7 separate regions of the Homo sapiens genome follow, and all the other regions are linked to region 6. Evidence: promoter capture Hi-C in 16 types of primary human blood cells and fetal thymus (Javierre and others, 2016). All regions are on one chromosome and are shown on one strand. Each heading gives the region's core, a stretch centred on a gene start or on the middle of the fragment in contact. The rest is flanking DNA. Distances are from core to core; before and after follow the strand shown. Region 1 overlaps HS2ST1 (heparan sulfate 2-O-sulfotransferase 1). Region 2 has its middle 4.6 kb from the start of LMO4. Region 3 holds the start of LRRC8D (leucine rich repeat containing 8 VRAC subunit D). Region 4 overlaps SELENOF (selenoprotein F). Region 5 overlaps ZNF326 (zinc finger protein 326). Region 6 holds the start of PKN2 (protein kinase N2). Region 7 overlaps LMO4 (LIM domain only 4).

Evidence for each region. The method cuts DNA at HindIII sites, captures the fragments that hold promoters and counts their contacts. A CHiCAGO score of 5 or more calls a contact.
Region 1: a contact is called between a fragment that was not itself captured here and the fragment with the promoter of PKN2 in region 6, in 1 of 17 cell types (non-activated CD4 T cells). The highest score is 8.9, in non-activated CD4 T cells.
Region 2: a fragment that was not itself captured here is called in contact with the fragment with the promoter of PKN2 in region 6 in 1 of 17 cell types (total CD8 T cells); the score reaches 11.8 in total CD8 T cells.
Region 3: the fragment with the promoter of LRRC8D here is called in contact with the fragment with the promoter of PKN2 in region 6 in 1 of 17 cell types (neutrophils); the score reaches 6.8 in neutrophils.
Region 4: a fragment that was not itself captured here is called in contact with the fragment with the promoter of PKN2 in region 6 in 1 of 17 cell types (activated CD4 T cells); the score reaches 6.3 in activated CD4 T cells.
Region 5: a contact is called between a fragment that was not itself captured here and the fragment with the promoter of PKN2 in region 6, in 1 of 17 cell types (activated CD4 T cells). The highest score is 5.7, in activated CD4 T cells.
Region 7: a contact is called between a fragment that was not itself captured here and the fragment with the promoter of PKN2 in region 6, in 2 of 17 cell types (total CD4 T cells and non-activated CD4 T cells). The highest score is 7.8, in total CD4 T cells.

What each region holds. Positions count from the first base shown.
Region 1 is chr1:86,920,569-86,923,597 of GRCh38, reverse strand. All of the region lies in intron 1 of HS2ST1 (heparan sulfate 2-O-sulfotransferase 1), which reads right to left. Among named protein-coding and RNA genes, the nearest start is that of HS2ST1, 7.4 kb to the right of the region's middle. RefSeq lists a silencer at 1-78. The HindIII fragment of the contact is 2,489 bases long and covers 220-2,708 here.
Region 2 is chr1:87,322,587-87,325,883 of GRCh38, reverse strand. No RefSeq gene overlaps it. Among named protein-coding and RNA genes, the nearest start is that of LMO4, 4.6 kb to the left of the region's middle. The HindIII fragment of the contact is 2,031 bases long and covers 546-2,576 here.
Region 3 is chr1:89,819,413-89,822,329 of GRCh38, reverse strand. It overlaps LRRC8D (leucine rich repeat containing 8 VRAC subunit D), which reads right to left and starts at 1,298. Exons shown (of 3, transcript NM_001134479.2): 1 at 1,039-1,298. LRRC8D-DT (LRRC8D divergent transcript) reads left to right here and starts at 536. Exons shown (of 1, transcript NR_185885.1): 1 at 536-2,156. RefSeq lists silencers at 329-548, 420-629, 720-819, 920-1,269, 1,710-1,769. The HindIII fragment of the contact is 10,555 bases long and covers 1-2,917 here.
Region 4 is chr1:86,902,830-86,906,164 of GRCh38, reverse strand. It overlaps SELENOF (selenoprotein F), which reads left to right. Exons shown (of 5, transcript NM_004261.5): 2 at 2,717-2,884. Among named protein-coding and RNA genes, the nearest start is that of SELENOF, 9.6 kb to the left of the region's middle. The HindIII fragment of the contact is 1,155 bases long and covers 708-1,862 here.
Region 5 is chr1:90,005,302-90,008,217 of GRCh38, reverse strand. It overlaps ZNF326 (zinc finger protein 326), which reads right to left. Exons shown (of 12, transcript NM_182976.4): 5 at 468-873. Among named protein-coding and RNA genes, the nearest start is that of ZNF326, 12 kb to the right of the region's middle. The HindIII fragment of the contact is 1,355 bases long and covers 915-2,269 here.
Region 6 is chr1:88,682,910-88,685,995 of GRCh38, reverse strand. It overlaps PKN2 (protein kinase N2), which reads right to left and starts at 1,723. Exons shown (of 22, transcript NM_006256.4): 1 at 1,368-1,723. The coding sequence starts at 1,415. PKN2-AS1 (PKN2 antisense RNA 1) reads left to right here and starts at 792. Exons shown (of 4, transcript NR_110682.1): 1 at 792-832. RefSeq lists enhancers at 1,449-1,528, 1,559-1,888. The HindIII fragment of the contact is 6,383 bases long and covers 93-3,086 here.
Region 7 is chr1:87,338,933-87,341,952 of GRCh38, reverse strand. LMO4 (LIM domain only 4) reads right to left here. Exons shown (of 5, transcript NM_006769.4): 3 at 2,321-2,417; 4 at 1,751-1,906. Among named protein-coding and RNA genes, the nearest start is that of LMO4, 12 kb to the right of the region's middle. The HindIII fragment of the contact is 250 bases long and covers 1,477-1,726 here.

The sequences.
Region 1 (3,029 bases), core at 215-2,714, 1.8 Mb after region 6:
AGTGAAACCCCATCTCTACTAAAAATACAAAATATTGGCCAGGCGTGGTGGCAGGCACCTGTAGTCCCAGCTACTCGGGAGGCTGAGGCAGGAGAATGGCGTGAACCCAAGAGGCGGAGCTTGCAGTGAGCCGAGATTGCGCCACTGCACTCCAGCCTGGGTGACAGAGTAAGACTCTGTCTCAAAAAAAAAAAAAAAAGGCGTTCCCCTGCATAAGCTTTCTCATTTTTTGCCTGCCACCATAAGATGTGACTTGCTTCTCCTTGCCTTCTGCCACAGTTGTGAGGCTTCCCCAGCCATGTGAACTGTAAGTCCAATTAAGCCTCTTTCTTTTGTAAGTTACTCAGTCTCAGGGCGTCAAAACGGGCTAATACAGGATGTTAAGGAAAGAAATGATACATAATTTTTTAAAGACCTATATTAAACTTCTAGAAGGGCAGGGGGAGGAGTGGGAGGCAACGCCTGAGATAAAAAATAAACTGGGTAATATTAAAAGTGGATTACATACTGCAGAAGGATTGGTGAATTAAAGACCTAGCAGTAAAAACTATCTAAAACAACACACACACACACAAAAAGACTGAGAATGATGAATAGAACATCACTGAACTGTAGAACAATTTCATGTGGTCTAATGTAAGTGTATTTTGAGTTCCTGAGAGGAGAAGCAGCATAGAAAAACTAACGTGAAGAAATAATAGCCAAAAATGTTTAAATGTAATAAAAACTGTAAACTCACAGATCCAAGAAGCTCAACAAACCCCAGGCACAAGAAACATAATACAAGGGCACAAGAAACATAATTTAATAATTAAATAATTAAAAACCTAGTGAAACTCTTAAAAGTAGGCAAAAGAGGAAAAATAAAAGACACGCTACATATAGTTGAACAAAGAATGATGGCAACCTTCTCATCAGAAACAATGCAAGCCAGAAGACAATGAAGCAATATCTTTAAAGTACTGAAACAACAAAAATGTCAGCTTAGAATTCTATACCCAACAAAAATATCCTTCAAACACTATAGCAAATAAAGACTTTTTCAGACACACAAAATGAAAAGAATTCATCACCAGTATATTTTTAAGTGTAAGTAATGTTAAAAGAAATTCTTCAGAGTGAAAAAAATGGTACCACATGAAAATCTGCATACACACACACACACACACACACACACAAAATGAAGAACACTGGGAATGGTAAATATGTCAGCAAATTTTTAAAAAATTTTTAAACATTTTATATATTTTTAAAATATAAGTTAAAGCAAAAATAATAATGTATTGTAGGACTCATGTATAGAAGTAAAATGTATAATGACGATAGCAAGAACCCAGAAAAAAGTGGTAATATATTAAGGTTCTTATACTACACATGAAATTCTATCATGTATACCATAAACCCTTAAGCAACCACTTAAAAAAAAAACAACAACAAAGAGCACTGCTAGTAAGTCATCAAATTAAAAAATGGAATTTAAAAATACCCCTTTAATCCTAAAGACAACAGAAAAAAAGGAATCACAGAACAGTTAAGATAAACAGAAAACAAATAGCAACTCACGAATTTAAACCCAACCACATCAATAATCACATTAAGTGTTCTAAACATTCCATTAACAAAAGAGATTGTGAAATTAGATGAAAGATTAGATGCTGTCTACCAAAAATCCACTTTAAATATAAATACACAAGTAGGTTAATATTAACAGGATGGGAAAAGATATACCACCTGACACTAATCAAAAGAAAACTGAAGTGTCTGTATTAGTATTAGACAAAGTAAGTATCATAGTCCATTGTGTGGTACTATAACAAAATACCTGAGACTGGGTAATTTATAGAAAACAGAAATGTATTTCTTCACAGTTCTGGAAACTGAGAAGTCCAAAATCAAGACACCAGCATCTGTTGAGGGACTTCTTGTGGCATCCTCACATGGTTGGGGGTAGAAATGGCAAAAGGGGGACAAATGCTGTCTTCTTACGTAGAAAAAAGAGAACACACTGCCACAAGCTCTTTTATAACAGTATTAATACAGTTATGAGGGGAGAGCCCTCATCACCTAAACACCCTCCACCTCCCGCCCCAATACTGTTGCATCGGAGATTAAGTTTCCAACATGTGAATTTTGGGGGAGACATTAACACCACAGCAGTAGGTTTCAGAGCAAAGAATATTACCAAGGATAAAGATGGTATCTTGTATAAAAAAAAGGGTTGGTCCATCAAGAAGACATGACAGCCTAAATGTGCATATACTTAATCACAGCACTTCAAAATACATGAAGCAAAAAGTGACATAACTACAAGAAAAACAGACAAATCCACAATTATCAAAGATTTCAAAACCCCTCTCCATAACTGATGAAGAGGCAGAAAAAAATCAAGAATACAAAACACCATAACAATACTACCAACCGACATCTACAGCATACTTCAGCCAATAACAACAGAATACATATTTTTCACGTTCACCTGGAACATTTACCAAGATAGTTTTTTTTTATTTGTAATTGACAAAACTGTATATATTTATCATGTACAACATGTTTTAAAACATGTATATATCATGGATGGCTAAATCAAGCTAATTAAGACAACATGCATTACCTCACATACTTTTTTTTTTGGTATGGTGAAAACACTTAAAATCCACTCTCTTAGCAATTTTCAAGAATACATTGTGACAGGAGAATGAGGGAAAGCTTCGGGAACCATGTCTTTAGGTAAGTGAGGCAACAGAATCAGGTGCACAAATGACCGAACAGGAGCACTGACAGTTACCATCTATTGTTAACAGGCAGAAAGGCAGAATACGTAAGTACAGGTACTGGTAGGTGGGTAGATCTTAAAAATAACTAGGCTATAGTGAACCATGATTATGAAGTTCATCTATAAGTACATCCTTCAAAAATGGTCTTCTGGAGAGCAATCTTTGAACATTCATTATTATTTCAATTTCTCTAAGTGCCAAAAAGCTATTAGAAGGCCTACCAGAGTGGTGGACAGACATCCTGGAATTATCTTA
Region 2 (3,297 bases), core at 312-2,811, 1.4 Mb after region 6:
CCCCACAGTTGACGAAACCTCTGCTGATATCACACATTCATCATTCATCCTACTCATCTGCAATGAGATATAAGATTAGGGGGCTTTGGAAAAGAAAGATAAATGTAAATCGTTTCTTTCTTGAATCCTAATTAAATGTGGGAACCATACTGCTCCTAGATCAAGCCGTCATTTTCTCCACTTGCCCCAAAATTATTTGTTCATAGCTTCCTTTCTCGTTTATGTCCTTCAATCATAATCATTCTTTTCTCCAAGTGACAGTTCGCTAAGAATCTCCCATGGACAGCCAGAGGTTCTACACAGACCTATGCAGCCTTTAATGTCTGGAGAAAGTCTAGGCTATTTGATGCTGATATGACCTCCAAGACAACATGCCCCAGCTCTTTCTCAGGAAAAAATATTCTGTCCTTTTAAAGTCAATGCAAAACCGTTTTTGAAGAAAGTCTTTTTAGGAAGGAAAATTTTTAAAAATCTGCTCAACTTTATTGCTGCCATCACAGAGATCCCTTGATATTCAGTTTCCTCCAACGTGAATACAAAAAGCTTGAGTCTAGGACAACAATTCCAGAGTGTAAAAGGTGTGGAGAGAAAAGGGAACAGTAGTTACCAACAGAAAAAACCCAAGGAAGAGGAAGGGCAGGTTAGGTCCTGGGCCAGTTTTCTGTGGTGGCGTTGTCGTCTGAGCAGCAGGGTGTATGGCACAGTAAGTATAGTCGGACCTGCTGCTTCATTTAAGAATAGGAGTTTACAGGCCCAGTGGCCCACGCCTATAATCCCTGCACTTTGGGAGGCCGAGGCAGGTGAATCCCTTGAGTTCAAGACCATCCTGGGCACCATGGCAAAACTCCATCTCTACTAAAAATACAAAACTTTAGCTGGGTGTGGTGACATGTGCCTGTAGTCCCAGCTGCTGGGGATGCTGAGGTGGGAGGATCACCTGAGCCCTGGAAGTTGAGGCTGCAGTGAGCCATGATTGTGCCACAGCACTCTAACCTGGGAAATGGGAGTGAGGCCCTGTCGCAAAATAATAATAATAATAAGAGTTTACCTAGAACTCAACATCTCGAAAAGCCTATATTTCACGGAACCATATCTTGGCTTTAAAATATTGATAATATTTAATAATACTTTGAATTTACTGACTGCCTTTTTAGTCTTTCTCAAAATTCTTTATAAATATCTCACTAAATGTTTCATGTGATAAATGTTTCTAATAATTGCCTTATTAGAATATTATTGTTTGTTTTTTGTTAAAGCAATCCAGATGACTACGTTGGGTAAGTATCCCACCAAATTATGTTAATCAATATTTAGGAAGTTCTACCCTAACTACTCTTTTTAAGGTAATAAACAAGCATAGTGAAGAAGTTGATTTTATGGCAAGAAAATAACAGATCACTGAGGAAAAGGAAACAGCATTGACATTGTTGTGACTGGAAATATAATTTAAGATGTAGATTTTGATTTTAATTATTCTATTTGATTAAGGTATTTGAAACTCCTAGAGTTGATAGAAAGGTGAAAAAGATAATAGGAAAGAAGAAAACACCTCTGTGACCCAGCATTTTGCCTGATGTAGCAAGGCTACTTTAAAATAGTGTCGTGAAATTACTCATTGTCTTCGTAAAAGTTTATTAGCATAGCAACAGAACAGTACAAATCCCCCAAATTTGCCTCAGAACTATCAGCAAATCTTTTTTTTTTCTTTTTTTTTTGAGACAAGGTCTTGGATGGGTCACAGGCTAAAGGCTCACTGCAGCCTCAAACTTTGAGCTCAAGCCATCCTCCCACCTCCTTAGCCCCCTCACCCCTACCCCAGTAGCTGGGACTGCAGGTGCATACCACCACGCCCAGCTAATTTTTTTTGGTAGAGACAGGGGTCTCACTGGTTGCCCAGGCTAGTCTTGAACTCCTGGCCTCTGGGGATCCTCCCACCTCAGCCTCTCAAAGTGCTGGGATGACAGATGTGAGCCATTGTGCTCAGCCCAGCAAATCTTGATATGTGAATCTGTTTCATGGCAATGATACCATAGAAAAAATTGTTTGGCTTACTCATACTACCTATTTCTAAGCCTGAATTCTGTCAACAATATTCAATCACAGTGATATTCTGCATCTATCATTGCAAATAAATTATCAGACTATATGTGTGAGTGTATTATATGTTCATTAAGGTCTTTTAAATGGTCTAGTGGGTCAATAGCTACTGCTTATTAAAGTCAAGTCTTTGCATGGATAGATTTAATTTCATAATAGTTACAAAAGAGGGTATATAGATGACTGGGCCACTTGTATATATGTGAGGTGGTTATTACTAAGAATATATGTTGAAGTTATAAATCCAGCAGAAAATAGCAATTCTGTTTAAAATTAATTACTGTTTCTCTCCAAGACGATGGAAATGAGCACTTACTGATAGAGAAACTAAGGCATTAAGATGTAATTCGTTCTCCCTTATGTTCCCACTAACTCTTCTTGGTAAAAGAAAGGCTACTAATTCAGAAATTTTAAGGGCCCAAAACCATAATTTCTTTTGTTAGTGTCAGTTTTAATTCTAGTGTTGATATAATTAAGCTTTTTCTCTGTGTGGATTTGTAATAAGATGTATTTTAAAGTATAACATTGGTTTCTATTTGTTCACTAAAAAAGTTGATGAAAATATGATAATATTTATTCATCCAATTGTAATGAATGACTCTGTTGGAATTATGGAAGTACAATCCATAGCTGTCCTTGGACTTGGAAAGCACGCATTTCTTCTCTATACAGCACCATAAATTTTTTAGAATAAAAAGAACAACCAGATATGGATTTTTTTAAATAATAAAATTGAATAACTCAATTGACTAAAATGTGTTCCCACCACACAGAGGTACACATTATAACATCATCATTTATATTTCTCAACATAAATCAAATTTCATAATAAAATTGTTTTTGATGAATCACCACTTCTTTTCTAGCTTCAAAACATTCTGACAGAGAAAGCAAATTTGTCAATTTCTCTGTGTGATAAGAAATCACTGAAAATATATTTAAGACCTTTAGTCTAAGATAATAATTTTTTTGAAAGTTTCATTTAAAAGGAAAACATTCAAGGGAAGCCATTTTCAAATTTGGAGAAATAACTGAAGAATAAAATAGACTTTCTTTTCAGCATTTTTTTTCAATGCCATCTGCTATACTCTCTGACAATAAGGCCAGGAGAAGTCATTACAGAACAATACTCTGGAAACAATTTGCCTCAAAAAAGAATGAAAACTTAAACAACACTACCTTCATACATGTTTGCTCTAA
Region 3 (2,917 bases), core at 49-2,548, 1.1 Mb before region 6:
CCGCCTACATCCTGAGTGCGCCCTCCCTCTCATCTCGGCTGTTTCCTTCCCACAACCCTACCTCCATACTTTCGGCCACACACACCCCAAGTGCGTGCTCCTGGAACCTCACAGCCCACCTCTCCCTCTCCAGCAAGGACCTACCTCTCTTCCCCTCGACCTGCAGCAGTTCTTCTTCACTGCAGCTGGCTTTTTAAGAAATCAAAAAATCTCATTTATCTGCAAGGGATACCCCCTAGTAAAGGGTGACGGAAAGGAGAAGGCCCCTATCAACCCTCCAGTAACTGGAGGTGCTGGTCCTCCCGGCAACCACCCCCAATTCTCCTCCTTTTCAAGCCCCTGGACAGGATTTGAGCAGAAGTCCCGCTCCCAAGAGCCCACGCCTCCAAACAAGCTAGAAGCGGATTATACCGGTACCCAACCCGGAGACGGCCCGCGGACGGCTGGGTGCACCTGCGGGCCCCCAGCTCCCTCCCACAGGCGCGGGGGGCGGGGCGCGGGCCTTCACCTCCCCGCCCCCGCCCGCCGGGCTCCCAGCGCAGCCCACCCTGCACAGGAAGGAAGCGGAGGGGAGGCGATTCTGGAGAAGTTAAAGGGCTCACCTTTGGACGCCGGGCCAGCAAGGCCAGACACCAAACACCCACCTCCGGGAGGAACCAGCAGAGCCGAAACCGGCTCTCCCCGCCTTTCCGATAGGGCGGAGGGAGGTGAGAGAAGGGAGCGCGCGCGAGGGGTTCAGGAGCCAGGAAGCCGCACTCCCCTCCCGCAGGGCCGGCCGCCCGGGGCCGAAGCGGCCGACGCTCAGACTGCAGAAAGCGGAACAATCTCCCAGGCCCTGGCGGCAGCAAACGGGAGCCCACTCCGCTCGCCGCCACCTCCTCCCGACCCCCGGACGTCCCCGAATGAGTTCCCGGCCGCAACCGCAGCTCGGGCCGCGGCGCCTGCGCCAGGGTTGCGCGCTCCGGCTCGGCGCGGCTCCACCTGCGCGTCGCCTTCCCTCGCAGCCCCCGGCCCCTGCCGGGAGAGGTGCGCACCAACCTTGGGGTGCAGCTCGGCCGCCAAGCCACGGCTTATGCTGAGGCCGGAGGTGGCGGCATCACCCGCGGCGGGCGGCGGCTGCACCGGGACGCGCCGGGGCGGCGAAGGCGCGCTGCACCCTGGACCCTGCTCCCGCGGCCCCGCCCGCGGCTGCCACCTCGAAGCGCGGCGGAGGAGCCGGGGCACCACGGGCGGCGGCAGCGGCAGCGGCAGCAGCGGCGACGGGAGCAGCAGCACATGACTCTGTAACGAGGGGAATTAGACAAAGCGTAACATGGACTCCGGGCCCGTGCAGGCGCTGCAGCTCTGGGACCAACCGCAGCCGGCGAGTGCCGCGACTGGCCCGGCCGCAGCCAATGGGGCGGGCCCGGGCCTCCATGTGATTGCGAGCGCTTTCTCCGGTGGCCCTGCAGCGCCTGACCGGACGGGGTCTGTGTGGCGAGGGAGGGGACCCGGGGTTGGAGACTGGCGGCGAGCGACTGCTAGATGCGGAGCAGGTGCTTGGGAGGGGAAGAACGGCAGCCTACATAACCATCGCCGTAATGCTCTCGCAAGCGTCCACCTGGGCAGGGCTCGGTGCCGGGCAGGCGCAGCTGCCAGTTAGCTGCGAGGCATGGTCAGGAGCCTTCACCCGTCCTGGGCGAAGGAGGCTGTCCCGTCGACTAAAACTCTGATATTAAGACTTGGCGCTGGGGGTGGGGAGTTGAATTACGTTAAAAAGTCACTTAAGTGCCTTCCAACTCTAAGGAGAAGTACTTATCTGAGCTTTGGGGCACACACAACTACTACTTGGCATGGAGAGTTTCTCAGCTTCATGTGTTCCGTCTGTTATTGAAGCTGTATTGGAAAGTCGGTTCTTGTTTTTATCTGAGCCCGCCGTTTTCATCCCATTCTTTTCGTCAAAAATATGTTACATCTGAAAGAGGCAGATGAAAAGATTATTCTATGCTAAGAGGGTTTTGCAGCCCGATAATGTCACCGTTTTTTGTTGTTGTTGTTGTAGGATCGGGGTTCATTTGCAGTCTTTTTTGTGGGTGAGCAGAGGCAGGGGCCAATAAATAAATTAAGGCGGGATATTTGGAGTTATTTGGTTGTAATAAAATATGTGGTTCAACCCAGTGCTTTCATATCTTCTTTTATCTGAATCCATGTGTTTCTGTAAACCATCGGAAGTCTAATCTGTCTTCTACCAATATCTCTCCATGTCAGCAAATGTTCAATCAACGTTTACCCAGCATCTAAATATTCTTAATAAGCATGCTGCACAAATGTTACAGGTACTCAGGAAGGTGTCGGTTCAGAGACAGTGAGACATTAAAGAGAATGATTGTCCAGGGTTTCAGAAAAGGATTCAGAGAGGAGCTGATAGAATTGACCCTTGGATGGTGAGCACTTGGCCCTCAGGCATTGGACGTGAAGAAGAGCAGCCCAAACAGGAACATGAACAGAGAGGTCCAGAATACACTCAAGGGACTGCCCGAGACCCGTTACAAGATGCCACCAGATTCTGAGCCCTCGGCCCTTTTGCTCTCACTTTCCTTCCCCGACCCTCCTTGCCAGCAGCCACTCCTGTTCCACACACTGCCAAGAAGGAGGTGTATGGGCAGGGAGTGTGTGTAAGTGATCTAATCAGTGTCAGATTTGCTGATCTAAGAGATGAGAGGTCTTTTAAAACTTAACAACTAGTGGTGTGATATTTTTATTGAAAACAGCCCACTATTATAATGAATATGGAATGTTTTGCTGTTTGTAAAAAAAAAAAAAAATTATAGGCCGGGTGCAGTGGCTCACGCCTGTAGTCCCGGTACCTTGGGAGGCCGAGGCAAGAGGATCACGAGGTCAGGAGTTAGAGACCAGCCTGACCAACATGGTGAAAACC
Region 4 (3,335 bases), core at 36-2,535, 1.8 Mb after region 6:
CTAGGCTGGGATGTCTCATCTGTTTTGAAAAATTATACATATGACATTATTACAGAGATAAGATTAAAGATGTATAAAATATCACGTCAGCATTTTGGGTGAATATGCCAACAAGTACTTAAATTTTCTTTTCATTGGGAAATGCCACTGGATATTAATCTACCTGGTGAGTTTAGAAAAGGATTGACACACTGCAGCTGGTGGGCCAAATTCAGTCAACCCAGTTTTTGTAGAACAAATTAACATAACAAAATGAAGCAAAGTTTCATTGGAACACAGACACATTCATTCATTCATGTGTTATCTGTGACTAGTTTTTGCACTGCCATGGCTGAGTTAGATAGTTGTACAGAAACCATATGGCCACAAAAGCCTAACAAAATTATCTGGCCCTTCACATAAAGTTTGCATACCCTTAGTCTAGAAGATCAGTCAGTTGCAGTCAATCTGAAATTTCCCCTACCTGACGCTATGGCTTTGTGCGATTTATTTATCCAACAGATATATGAAAACTGTCACAAGTGAGGGAAAGACAGAGAAACAACTTAATGCTTGCCTTCAGAAGAGTTCATAGTATTGTTGAGGAGTCAGATTTACATAGTACAGTGTCACGAACGGTACTGTTTTACAACTGTGCACAAGTTTCTCGGAGAAGAAAAGTACTCTGGCTAATGATTGAGATCTGATTTTTTTGGTCAGTGAAAGCTTCCTAAAAGACTAATACTGATTAGATTCTTGAAAATAAGTAAGATGTTACAAGGTGAAGAAGTGGAAACAGAACCTTAAATATAGGGGAGACTGTGAGCAAAAGTGTGTTTGAGTAGGGCTTTTATACTTCAAGATACTATAGGAATTCCTTATAGCAGGAGGAATTGAGGAAGTAATGAGAAGTAGCCTTGGCAGTGAGCATTTAAGCCACTGAGGCAGGAAAAGACTTGAGAGCTTTTTAAGAGAATTATAAAAATATATTAATTGGTTGTGAGAATGGTGAAGAATATGGAGTGTAGGTCAGTAGGATGACTGATCTGGGCAACTAGCTTGTCAGAGAAATGATGCCATTTTACTAAGATACTGAATACCTTAGGAAGAATAGATTTAAGAAAAATATAAGTTTCAGTGTTGCAGATTTTGAACTTGCAATGCATATTCAACACCTAAATGTGATATTGAGTGGACTGTTGGCTTTGGAAGCCTGACATTCAAGAAAAATACTTGAGAGTTTTCAATAAATGCATATCTGAAGCCATGGATAAATATGCAGTAATAAATAGAAGGCATGTAAAGCTAAGAGAGAGCCAAAAACAGAACTGTGGGAAACAATAGCATTTAAGAGATGCATAGAAGAGAAAAGTAAAGGAGGACAGGCCTTTGGACGGGGTAGTTGAAGCAGAACAGTTTTGAATGCCTTTGCATTTGGTAATTTTGGGCAAATTTTGTGGAGTAGTAGGAGCAGAAACCAGGCTATATTAATGAGTTTGGGGTGTTAGGAAAAAATAAAGATAATAGAAACCAAGTTATAGTAACAATTCAGAAATGACAGAACGTGGGAAGAGCAGTTAGGACCATAGGGCTTAAATATAGCTAAAGGTTGAAGTATTGATGAAATGAAGTATCTGTTAAGATAGAATCCAAAGAGGAAGTAGAGGGATTGGCCTTAGACAAATGGAGGTATACCACATTCACTGATAGGTAAAAAAGAATGGATGAGGGAAGGGAATATTGTTGAAAGCCTGCTTTTGTCAGCCATTCTGATTGATTAAATCATCTCTGATTTAATGTAACGATTTATGTAAGGTAACCATAGCAATCTGTTTTATGTAGGAAGTATTGCCCCTTAATTTATGAGTGAGGAAATTAAAGCTTAGGGAGGATAGTTTGCCCAGGGTCACGAATCTTGTAACTGGTGGCACTATTACCTAAAACCAAAAGTTTGAATTCTGGCGTGCTCTTGCCTGCACCATCCCCTTTCCCGTCCTTCTTCTGCTGGATGTGACTGTAGATAAACCCTACAGCTAATCTTACTCCATAGACCCATATGAACAGATGTTGAGTTCTTAAAATGAAACAAAAATTATTTTTTCTTATAAGAAAATTCCTTTTTAAAACAATAAATCTTTAAGAAAATATTTATGTGATAAACATCATGAACAATGATATGCCTTTTCTTCTTAATCCATATTTTAGCTAAGCTGAAAGATGATGGATGTTTAAGAAAAAAAGCTTGTAGGGGAGGTGGGAGAAACCAGACTATTACATAAGGTTACAGAGTTTAAGAAAGAATTTATTGCTGGGCGAGGTGGCTCATGCCTGTAATCCCAACACTTTGGGAAGCCAAGGTGGGCGGATCACGAGGTCAGGAGATCAAGACCATCGTGGCCCCCGTCTCTATTAAAAATACAAAAATTAGCTGGGCGTGGTGGCATGCGCCTGTAATCCCAGCTACTAGGGAGGCTGAGGCAGGAGAATCACTTGAACCCAGGTGGCAGAGGTTGCAGTGAGCCGAGGTTGCACCACTGCCCTCCAGCCTGGCGACAGCAAGACTCCGTCTCAAAAAAAAATAAAATTAAATTAAAATTTAAAAGAATTTATCTCCAAATGAAACATTTCAGTAACTTGTCTTCAATGTGTTAGTTTTTGACAACCCCGTGTTCTCTTTTTGGAAAGCTTTGTAGTATAAATATGGAATTGTGTTTTATTTCCCATTTTTTATTTTCAGGTGTCTGCTTTTGGGGCAGAGTTTTCATCGGAGGCATGCAGAGAGTTAGGCTTTTCTAGCAACTTGCTTTGCAGCTCTTGTGATCTTCTCGGACAGTTCAACCTGCTTCAGCTGGATCCTGATTGCAGAGGATGCTGTCAGGAGGAAGCACAATTTGAAACCAAAAAGGTACTGTTTTCTAGTATATTCCTTCCATTGGATGGTTTAGTTGAGATAAGGTAAAAATGTAAGTTGCTTAATCAATTTAAGTGTAAAAAAGCCTCTAAGCTTTTACATTTTTTAGTAAAACTCAACTGATTTCTTGTCTGGCCTATTAGTTCAATCAAAGCAAATATGAAGGAGAAGTATGGTTGCATACCAGGATCCCATTCCACCATGATTGTCAAGCAAAGGGGAAGTAGAATCCCTATAACATGCTTTGATCCTGTAGTTCTCCAGTCTTCCTAACTTCTGGCCAAATGAAGCCAAAAAATAATAGGTGCTTTTGTTCATTTATAGTAAGAACCCAGTGTTGGATGAAACTTGAAATGAAAGTAAAGCACATAATACCTGGCACTTAATTGTCTACAATAAATTGTAACATGAAATCTGGTTAAAAAGAATATGGACTGTTAGTTTA
Region 5 (2,916 bases), core at 343-2,842, 1.3 Mb before region 6:
TCTCCTGTGTTTAATGTGAAACATGGAGCTTTGAAGAAATTCTACTTGCTAGAGTTTAGCCACAAAGTATAAACATTTTATCATACATTGCACCTTTAACCTACTCAAAAACTCAAAAAGGGTTCAGTGACCTTTCACAATAATCCACAAACTATTCCACCAGCAAAACTGCTAGTGTTTACAAGGAAAATGCAACTCCTTTTAACCCCTTTTAGACCAAACCAGTAGCCTCACCTTTTTAATAAAGGGAGATTTGGCACAACTTTATGATCATCTCAAACTGCCACTTATTTTCTGAGGTGCTAGAAAAACTTTTACAGTCAACCTAAAAATTATGTTTATGACTCAGCTTTTGCTTCAAAATACACCGGGATGAACAGTGTTTATTCTAGTTGAAAACGATGGTCTTGAAAGGGTTTAAAAGAGTGACTAGTGAAAAGAATCTGAAAAGATTCTGTTGTACTTACTCCTCGGCCTCGGCCTCTGCCTGTTGATGGTCCTCCAAAAGCATCATAGTTTCTGCTTCCAAACGTACTTTCAGGATAAGCAGGCGTTCCTCTCCCCCGAGAGCCTACAGGTGCAGGCTTCATATGGGGTGAAGAAAAACTGCTGTAGGAAGAGTAATTCTCTCTTCCTCTGTCCTCCATAAACCCAGGCCTCAATTTTGAACGGGAGTAAGGTGCTTCCCAGCTAGACCCGCCCTGGTTTCTACCTCCGAAAGAGTCAAGGCTATTCCGGTAGGAGCTCTCAAATCGACCACCATAACTACCTCCGAAGCGGCTTTGTTCGGGTTCATTAAAACCATAGCCAGATCTGTACAGATCTCGCCCACCCAGAGAAGACCTGGAGTCGTAAGACTCATAAGGTCCAAACCTGGAAAAGTTGCACAGTGAGGGAAAAAACAAAAGTAAGCTTACTAATGTTAGACAATTCAAAAGACAAATTATCAGATGACATTTATCAACTAAAATTCATTTATACCATACTGGTTTGCACAGTTCTACTTTTGTTCACATTTGATTAGGGCTGGGCAGTTCAACGTGAGACCAGATAGAAAGCTATCTGAGTCAGATTATAAATATGAATTGAGTTTAGTAAAACTTAGCTTTAAAATCTGCTTCTTAGCAGCTTTTCTATTTTATGAAGAAGAAAAGATTTGTCTGTCATTATTTAAGCCCAGCCCTAGTCTTGGAAAAGGTCATTTGCTAAAGTTCACAAACTATTCAAACTTTTTTGAATCTATCCCTAATATTAAAAATTACAAAACATTTACAATATTTTGGCTTTCAATAGGGACACAAATTGAAGTCTACTTAGATGTAGGTTATTTGTGACACAGAGAGATCCTTTTGCACTCCCAATAATCTATATCACAAACTGCTTCATTGTGTCTGTAGGAGTCAAAATTTGGGGAATTATCTCTGGTTATAAAAATTTAACAATCTGCCAAACTTCAGCCAAGGTCAATTAATCAATCCTCAATCACTTTTTACTTGTAGACTAGAAAATCTAACAAATCTAGAAGGATAAACAGATAAAACATAAAAGATCACCAACATATACCCTCTGCATATGAATTTTCAAGGCAGATGAGAAAGAATACATCTTATAATATATTCAATTATTTGCAAAATTATTTCCTTCAGGAAATTATCACATAAAACTACCCTAAAAAAGGGAGCACACAGTCTCCTCGAGGTTTTAAGAGAGTTAACAGAAGAAATAAATCATCTTCCTTCTCACAAACCCAAAGCATGGATTACAAAAGTTGCTTGATATCTTACAACACAATTTTATAAAGGCCCACAATTACACATGAGATAAAACAATAACATCTACGGATATAGCTTATGCACATTACATTCACAATATAAAAGGGCAATAACTGACATATTAAAACATTAAGTGTTACATTACTTCAATTATTTACAGATCACTAAATAGATTTACTTCTGAATCCTAGTAACCATATAAAAATTATTCCTATTTCCAACTACATTTTTCAAAACATCTATCACATAAGCAAAATAGTTGCAACTGTTCACTTTCTTAATTTTTCTTTACTATAAACCATAGTGGTACACTGGAAGCAGAAAGAAGGAAAGTAAGCATCATTCAGTCCATCATTAAGGAATCCGGATCCTTCAATTTATGCAGAAGGATGACTGTTTCACATGTCTACTAACTAGTTTTACTTATATTCAGCAGGAACCTTTGTGCCTCAAAAAGTAGACACCCCTTCTCCTGAAATATGGTCAACCTTAAAGCTTGTAGTTGTTTAAGTAGGTTTAAGCTTTATACAGTAGTAACAGGAAAATATAAATACAATCTCGACTAGTCAAAGGTATAGTATTCATGGCTTTAATACAATGCTTCTAGCCTAGAGCACAAGTGCTTTGGTGTAAGTAGTACCTGTCAATAAATAACCTGAACATAATTTTAAAAATATTTTTATTATTGCAATATGCTCTTCCTTTAAAATTAGAATTAAAGGAATATGTCCTGAATGTTTCTTGGAAAGTAAATGTTAGACTGGTTCAGTAAAATCCATTCTAGTTAGACTGCTTTGCTAATTTACATAGCACCCCACATTAGAAAAGATTTTTTTTAATTATTAAGAAAAAGCTTCATAAATAATATTTTCAATAACATTTTTATATCATTTTTCAGGATACTTTGATTGACAAGAAGTTAAAAGTAAAAGAATTTTTTAAAAGTTCACTGCTAAAAAGTGTATCTTACTCTATTATATTGACATGATATAGTTATCTGGTGTTTTCCTAAAATAACGTCTGCCAGTAATACTGATTTAAATTTTATACCCATTAATTAACACCTTTAAATATTTAAGGTGATGATTCAATAGCAAACAGTGAAGTTCAAGTATCATAACATGCCTAAAGAGTACTTAAAATA
Region 6 (3,086 bases), core at 474-2,973:
ATTCTAAATGTGCAACACTGCATTGATATACATTGTTAAAGTCTCTATTTTTGTGGAGGAAATATCAACCATTATACCAAAGTTTTCAAGCTTACGTCTGACTGCACAAGAAACCAAACTTATAAAGAGATTTCTTAAAAAGTATATTTAAACAAGAAATTTAGATGCAGTTGCAATACTTAATTTTGACATCAACTCTTCAGAATTTCTTGATTTAGTCTTTTTTTTAAAAAAAATTAACTGTCCAACACACAAAAAGAAATGCAGGCATGCTATTTTTTTCTCCTAATTCCCATCTACAATCTTTGAGTAGCTAAAAGATAACTATATTAAAATAAAGCAAAATAACTTTTAAGTCAAAAAACAAACATCTCTGGAACACTCCCAAGTAATGAAAAACCCGACAGGGTAGCTTAAGTCCCCATGTACACCATAGAGATCTAAAGAAAATCGTGCCTACATTATCAAATATTTATCTGGAAATGGGAAATAACATTGCTACTCGACATGACTTAACTAAGCGATCTACTTTGCTCTCATCTTTTGCAGACATGTGGTGCCCAATGTTTTCCCTTAGTCGACTGCTTTCTCATTAGTAAACAACTTATTAGCTCTTTCTCTGGTGCTCAAATGAGAGGGAAAATGAAAGTCTGAAAAGCATCAGCATCTGAGCTCCCGGATCTGGGCAGGGGTAGCAGAGAAAGGCACCCTGTATTTATCACTCGGTTAAAAAAAAAAAAAGAAAGGAAAAGAAAAGAAAAAGATAACCCTCAAAATAGAGGAAAGAAACTCTGTCACCTGAAGAGGGCTGCTGAAGTGAAGCAAACATTTGGTGAGACTCGTTTTTTAAAAAAACTTGTCTAGGGGCTGGAAGTTATGGGGGCGCTCTTTGTGCGGAGTCTGAGGGGAGGGGGAGGGACAAGAAAACAGCTTGGGAGTCATTCAAAGGAGTTTAAGGAGCGGTGTACGGAGGAAAGGCGGGGCGGGGCCCGGCCGCGCGAAGGGAGGGGGCAACAGGGGCGTTCGCGGGTAGCTCTGACACCGAGGGAGGGGGCGACGGGCCGGCCTCTCCGGGGACCAGGCGAGAGCAGGCTCCCGCTGCAGCAGGGCTGCAGAGATGGGGTCCCCTCTGGTAGGCAGAATCAAACCAAAGCGGTGGCAGGCCAGGGCTTTGGCGGGGGAGAGGGTCCGGCTCCCCAGGGAAGCGGTTCCCCGAGGGAAGCATTTCCCGAGTGACATCCCGGAGTTTCCGCACTTAGCGGGCTAGGGGCGCGGCGGCCGCAGGGCTTTCCTCGGTCCCCGACGCCGCGCGGGGCTCTCTCCCTGTCTCCTCCGCCAGCGCCTCTCACCAGGGCCGCGGCCCTTACCTGCAGTTCCGTGAGCAGAATCTCCCCCCGTTCGGGGTTGGACGCCATTGCGCTCCGGTATGGACTCCGCACCTGGACGCGGCCGCCTCTGGCGAAGGGAGAAGGCGGGACGGGGCTCGGGGTGGGGGTGAGGAGAGGGGAGAGAAAGAAAAAAAAAAAAACAACTAGGGATTCATGGAGGCGCAGCCCCTGCTGGAGGCGCGGCTTATTCCGTCCGGTTCATCGAGAGCGGCGGGGAGCTAGGGCACTCGTAGCGGGCTTCCTCTCGCCGCCCTCACCGGACTGTTCGTCTAGTCGCTCCCTCTGGGCGACGCCAGGAGCCGCCTCAAGCCTCTCCGTGCGGGCGCTGCGGCCGCGGCTGCAGCTCCTCCTGTCGCACCATTTGGCTGTCACCGCGTCGCAAAAGCGGCCTCACTTGGCGGCTGCCAGCACACGTGACGGCGGCAGCCACTGCCCCTCATCGGGCAGGGAAGGTGGGGCGGAGGGGTTCCCTAGGGCGAACGCGGCGAGGGGGCGGGGCGTCTTCCGACCCGACTCCGCGGCGAGGGCAGCCATTGGACTCGGCTGGGGTGAAAATGAGGGGAAAGGACTGGGCTCGAGTCTCTGGGGAGGCGGGAAGAGGAAGAAAACACACGCCTACTTTCCTGCTGCGTTTAACGGCTTCACTGTGAACGCTAGAACTCGGGAGCCTGCTCGCTGTTGTTTTTTCGGGTTTCGTTTTTTTTTTCTTTCTTTTTTTTTTTTCCCAGTTCCACCTTGCCGAAACTTGGGCCTAACTTTAACAGGCCCTTTTCTAACCTCCATAACCCAAAGAGCTTCGGGACTCAGATCTTACAGATTATTCCTCTGCTCTCCCCTTGACCCCCACGTCAACCCAAACTAATAATCTTGCCTTTTGCTCACCCTCAAACCCAGCCCCCAGCGCGCCTTCTCGACCAGTTAAGGTGCACAGCTAGCTAAACGGGTATGGTCTGTACTTTTCATGAAATGTAAGCGGCTGGATCCCTGGCAACTTTTAATGTACGGCCTTTAAGATGTCTTTTTCTTGAGGTTGAACTACTGTTGCTTGTACTGGAGAACTGTACAGAGCTGAGAATTAGCTGGGTTTTTTTGGGTTGTTTTAACTTTATTTAAGGGAGGGGGAGGTGGGACGGGATTACCCTCGGGAAAGGAAAAAAGCCACCTTTCCTTGGCGTGGTAAGCATTAAAGCTAACCTGACTACTTAGTAAAATATAGCTAAGTAAAGTAAATCTAGGTGTTTGTTTTTAATGACACTATGGTATTAAGGAATTTCGAAGTCTCCTACAGGTAGCTTTTGTTTTTGTTTTGTCTGAGCAGTGAATGGATAGGTAAACGCGTAACTTTTGATTTTTTGAAGCTGCGGTACAATACCTTTGTTAAAACTACCTGGAGAGAGTGGTAAGGGTTATTTAGGTACGTTGCTACTTAGAAAGGGCATTCGTTGACATATTTCTTAGGAAGTGTAACATTATGTACTTCTCACACGCTCCATGTAACTCTGTTGGCCTGATGCCAGGACTTAACGTCTATCCTTTTGCCTTCTCAAGTCTCATACATCAATTCAGCAAACATGTATTGAAGATCTGGAGTTCTGTGGCCACAGTTTCTGAACTCTAACTTATCATATGTGTGATAAAGAATTTTTCTGGTGTGTACTTCACAAGTCTTACAACTATTTATGTGTCTAGTATATTGCC
Region 7 (3,020 bases), core at 352-2,851, 1.3 Mb after region 6:
CTGAATAGGTATCTCCAAATATTTATGTTGCTCATTCATTGTTCTCAACTCTGCCCTGCAGATTCACTTCATTAGAATCCAAATCACAAAAATCTTTAAGCATTTATATGTCTTGGCACTCCTTGAAGAAGCTTGAAATACCTCATCAGCAGTGACTGGTTAGTTTGCAATTAAAAAGTTCAACTTTTATTCTTAAAATGGTTATTCTATGTAGCTCCCCATATTAGTAAATTAAAGTGCACATAATGTCATGTAATTAACACTAAGAAACAGAACATACATTTAAAATTACCTCATAAACTTGAGCAAGGGAAAAGGGCAAATATAAGCATCAAAATATGGCAGCATAATTTTAATGGTTAAAAGTTTTCAAATATTTGTCAAACCCCCACCTCCACCACCGCACTAAGAAAATGCATTACAGAAGACAAAAAAGTCTATTTTTTTCCCCGAGATTTTTGAAGCTTGCTAAATTCCTATTTGCAGATAAATGTTGTTTTTTTTGTGATCCTTACAACAGACATTAATGAAGTTCCTATTGTAAATCCATAAAGAATTACCAAGTGAAGTGTGCACTTTTTGTTTCAATGCAATAACTCAGTGCTGTGTGATTGCCTGGGTTAATGATGAAAAAGTCAAACATACTATCAGAGCTGATGGAAAAATCTATCACCAATCTGAAATTAAAATTCATCTGTGGTCAATAAGATTTAATATCCATGCAAGTGGCGCTGTAAAGAGTAAATGAATCAATGTCATCAATACATAATCAGTATGAAATATGATGTGAATAAAATTATGCACACGAGTCATACATTTCACTCTTTTCTGGGCCGGTGTGGAATGAACAGTCTCTTAACTGAAGGTTGACAGTAATTGTTACAAATTAGGCACAGCAGTTATCAAAATGCACTCACTTGCATAGCTATAGGACTTATTAAGGAGATTAAAATAGATCTAAAACTATCCAGTACTGGGGGTGCTGGACAACTGTTGATCACCAATTTTCCCTCTGGAATATCTTCTAATACTACATGATTTGTATACTTGTATAATTTCCTAATTTTTAATTCTGGTACAAGGATTTTCAAGTTGTGGATCAAGAATCAAGATACATAATTTCTAATGGCACTATTAATGGCACTAAGCGGGTTAGCAAGAACAAGAACTTGGTTTTAAAAGCCATAACTTATTCAAATGTTATGGTACCGCCAATGAACAAAAATGCCCTCTTATGAAGTTACAGAATGTTTTGTAAAATTACTCTTCTAAAAAGTAAATGAATTGTAAATTGGGTTTGGAAGGCAGGTGTCCAGATTGCTATTCCTAACGCAGAAATCATTCTTTCATAACAAAGATCTTTATTCTCTTTTCCTACCATAAATGTTCTAATTTTTCTTCCACAATAACCTATCACATCATGTTTCTGAATTTCAAAATTGTCAAATGGAATAAATAACCAGTTATATGGAAGCTTTACATTTTGTTTGCTTTTGCATGTGATAATCTTATGTTCAACGTGAGTGAAGCTACAGATATAACAAAGTCAGGATTTTTTTTTTAACTAGAAAGGATTCACAATTTAATCAGCTATCCTACTTCTGAACACTCTATGTACAACTAGTAATCTACATTTCTTTAAAAGGGCATGCAAAAATACAACCACCCAAGAAAACTCTCTTGCTAGGTTAAGAGGTTGAACCTTCCAACTTGCTCTAATAAAGCTTATTAGTAATTGCTGGGTATTCACCTTCTGGTCTGGCAGTAGTGGATTGCTCTGAAGTGAATTCAAATGGCCATTGATGAGAGCTGTAGGTCTATCATGTTCACAAAATAAACTGCCATTGATGTAGTGAAACCGATCTCCCGGGACCAGGCGATTCCGGCAGGTAGAGCATGTAAAACACTGAAAGGGAAAAACAAACCCACTGAAAACAAGGTAAAAATTAAGTCTTTTTTTGGTCACAAGTTTATAACCTGTTATTAAGCAGGTATCTGTCAAGTACAGAGACACTTAGGGTTTAGCGTTTTTTCTTCCTTTGACAGATCTCCAGAAAACAGTAAGCCAAATTGCTATCAACTGGACCAGGCTAAATGGGGACAAATCCAAATACATGTGTACTTCTGTCTGTGGCATAGGGGAAGCGTGGTCTGTGCATGTGGATGTGTAACCATCACTGCCATGCTACAATTTCAATCATTCCTTCAAGTGTCTGCAGCTTGAGAAAACAGTTCATACCAAGGAGAAATGCTTTGCCCCCATGTAGGTAGGAAAGGTATGATTTTTTTTTTAAAAAAAAAAGAGAGATGCAAATACTACCTTAAGATGATACACATTGCCTTGCGCCCTCATGACGAGTTCACTCGCAGGAATCGACTGTCCGCAAGCGCTGCAAGCACCGCTATTTCCAAATAACCTGAAACAAAGAATAACGGTTGACACCAGTGAATAATCCTAAACCAAAGAAAAAGAAAGAAAAACACCCCCAGACTCTGGGCATCCCTTTGGAATGCATTTGACAGGCTGAATTCTTAGGCTCAAGCCTCAGATTTTCTGAGTGATTTACATAATCTGGGAAAAATCCTTTTTGTGGGACAACAAACTTCTGCCTACCGCAGAGGATGCCCCAGATTTAATCAAAATATTGACTTACACCTCTAGCAAATACAATTCTGTTCTACACACATTTTATCAGATTACTAGGTTCATCATAAAAAAAAAAAAGATACAATTCATGACTGGAGTTTAAATGCATTGTGTCCTTGAAATTATATGAAGAACTCTTTTGTACTTTAATCATATCTTCAGATATGAGTCATCAAAAGGGTTAAGAGGATTTGATTGTATATCTAAGAAGACATCATGCTCAGTGTATTGAAACTCCCGTAAACCTCCATCAGTGCAGACTTTCCATTAGAAACTCTCTGCTATCCAGGTTGATATATAATGTGTATGGGTTAACCTTTTCAATCATGGTGTCAACACTTAAGATTTGCCTCTGCTCATCTCTTTCATCCTA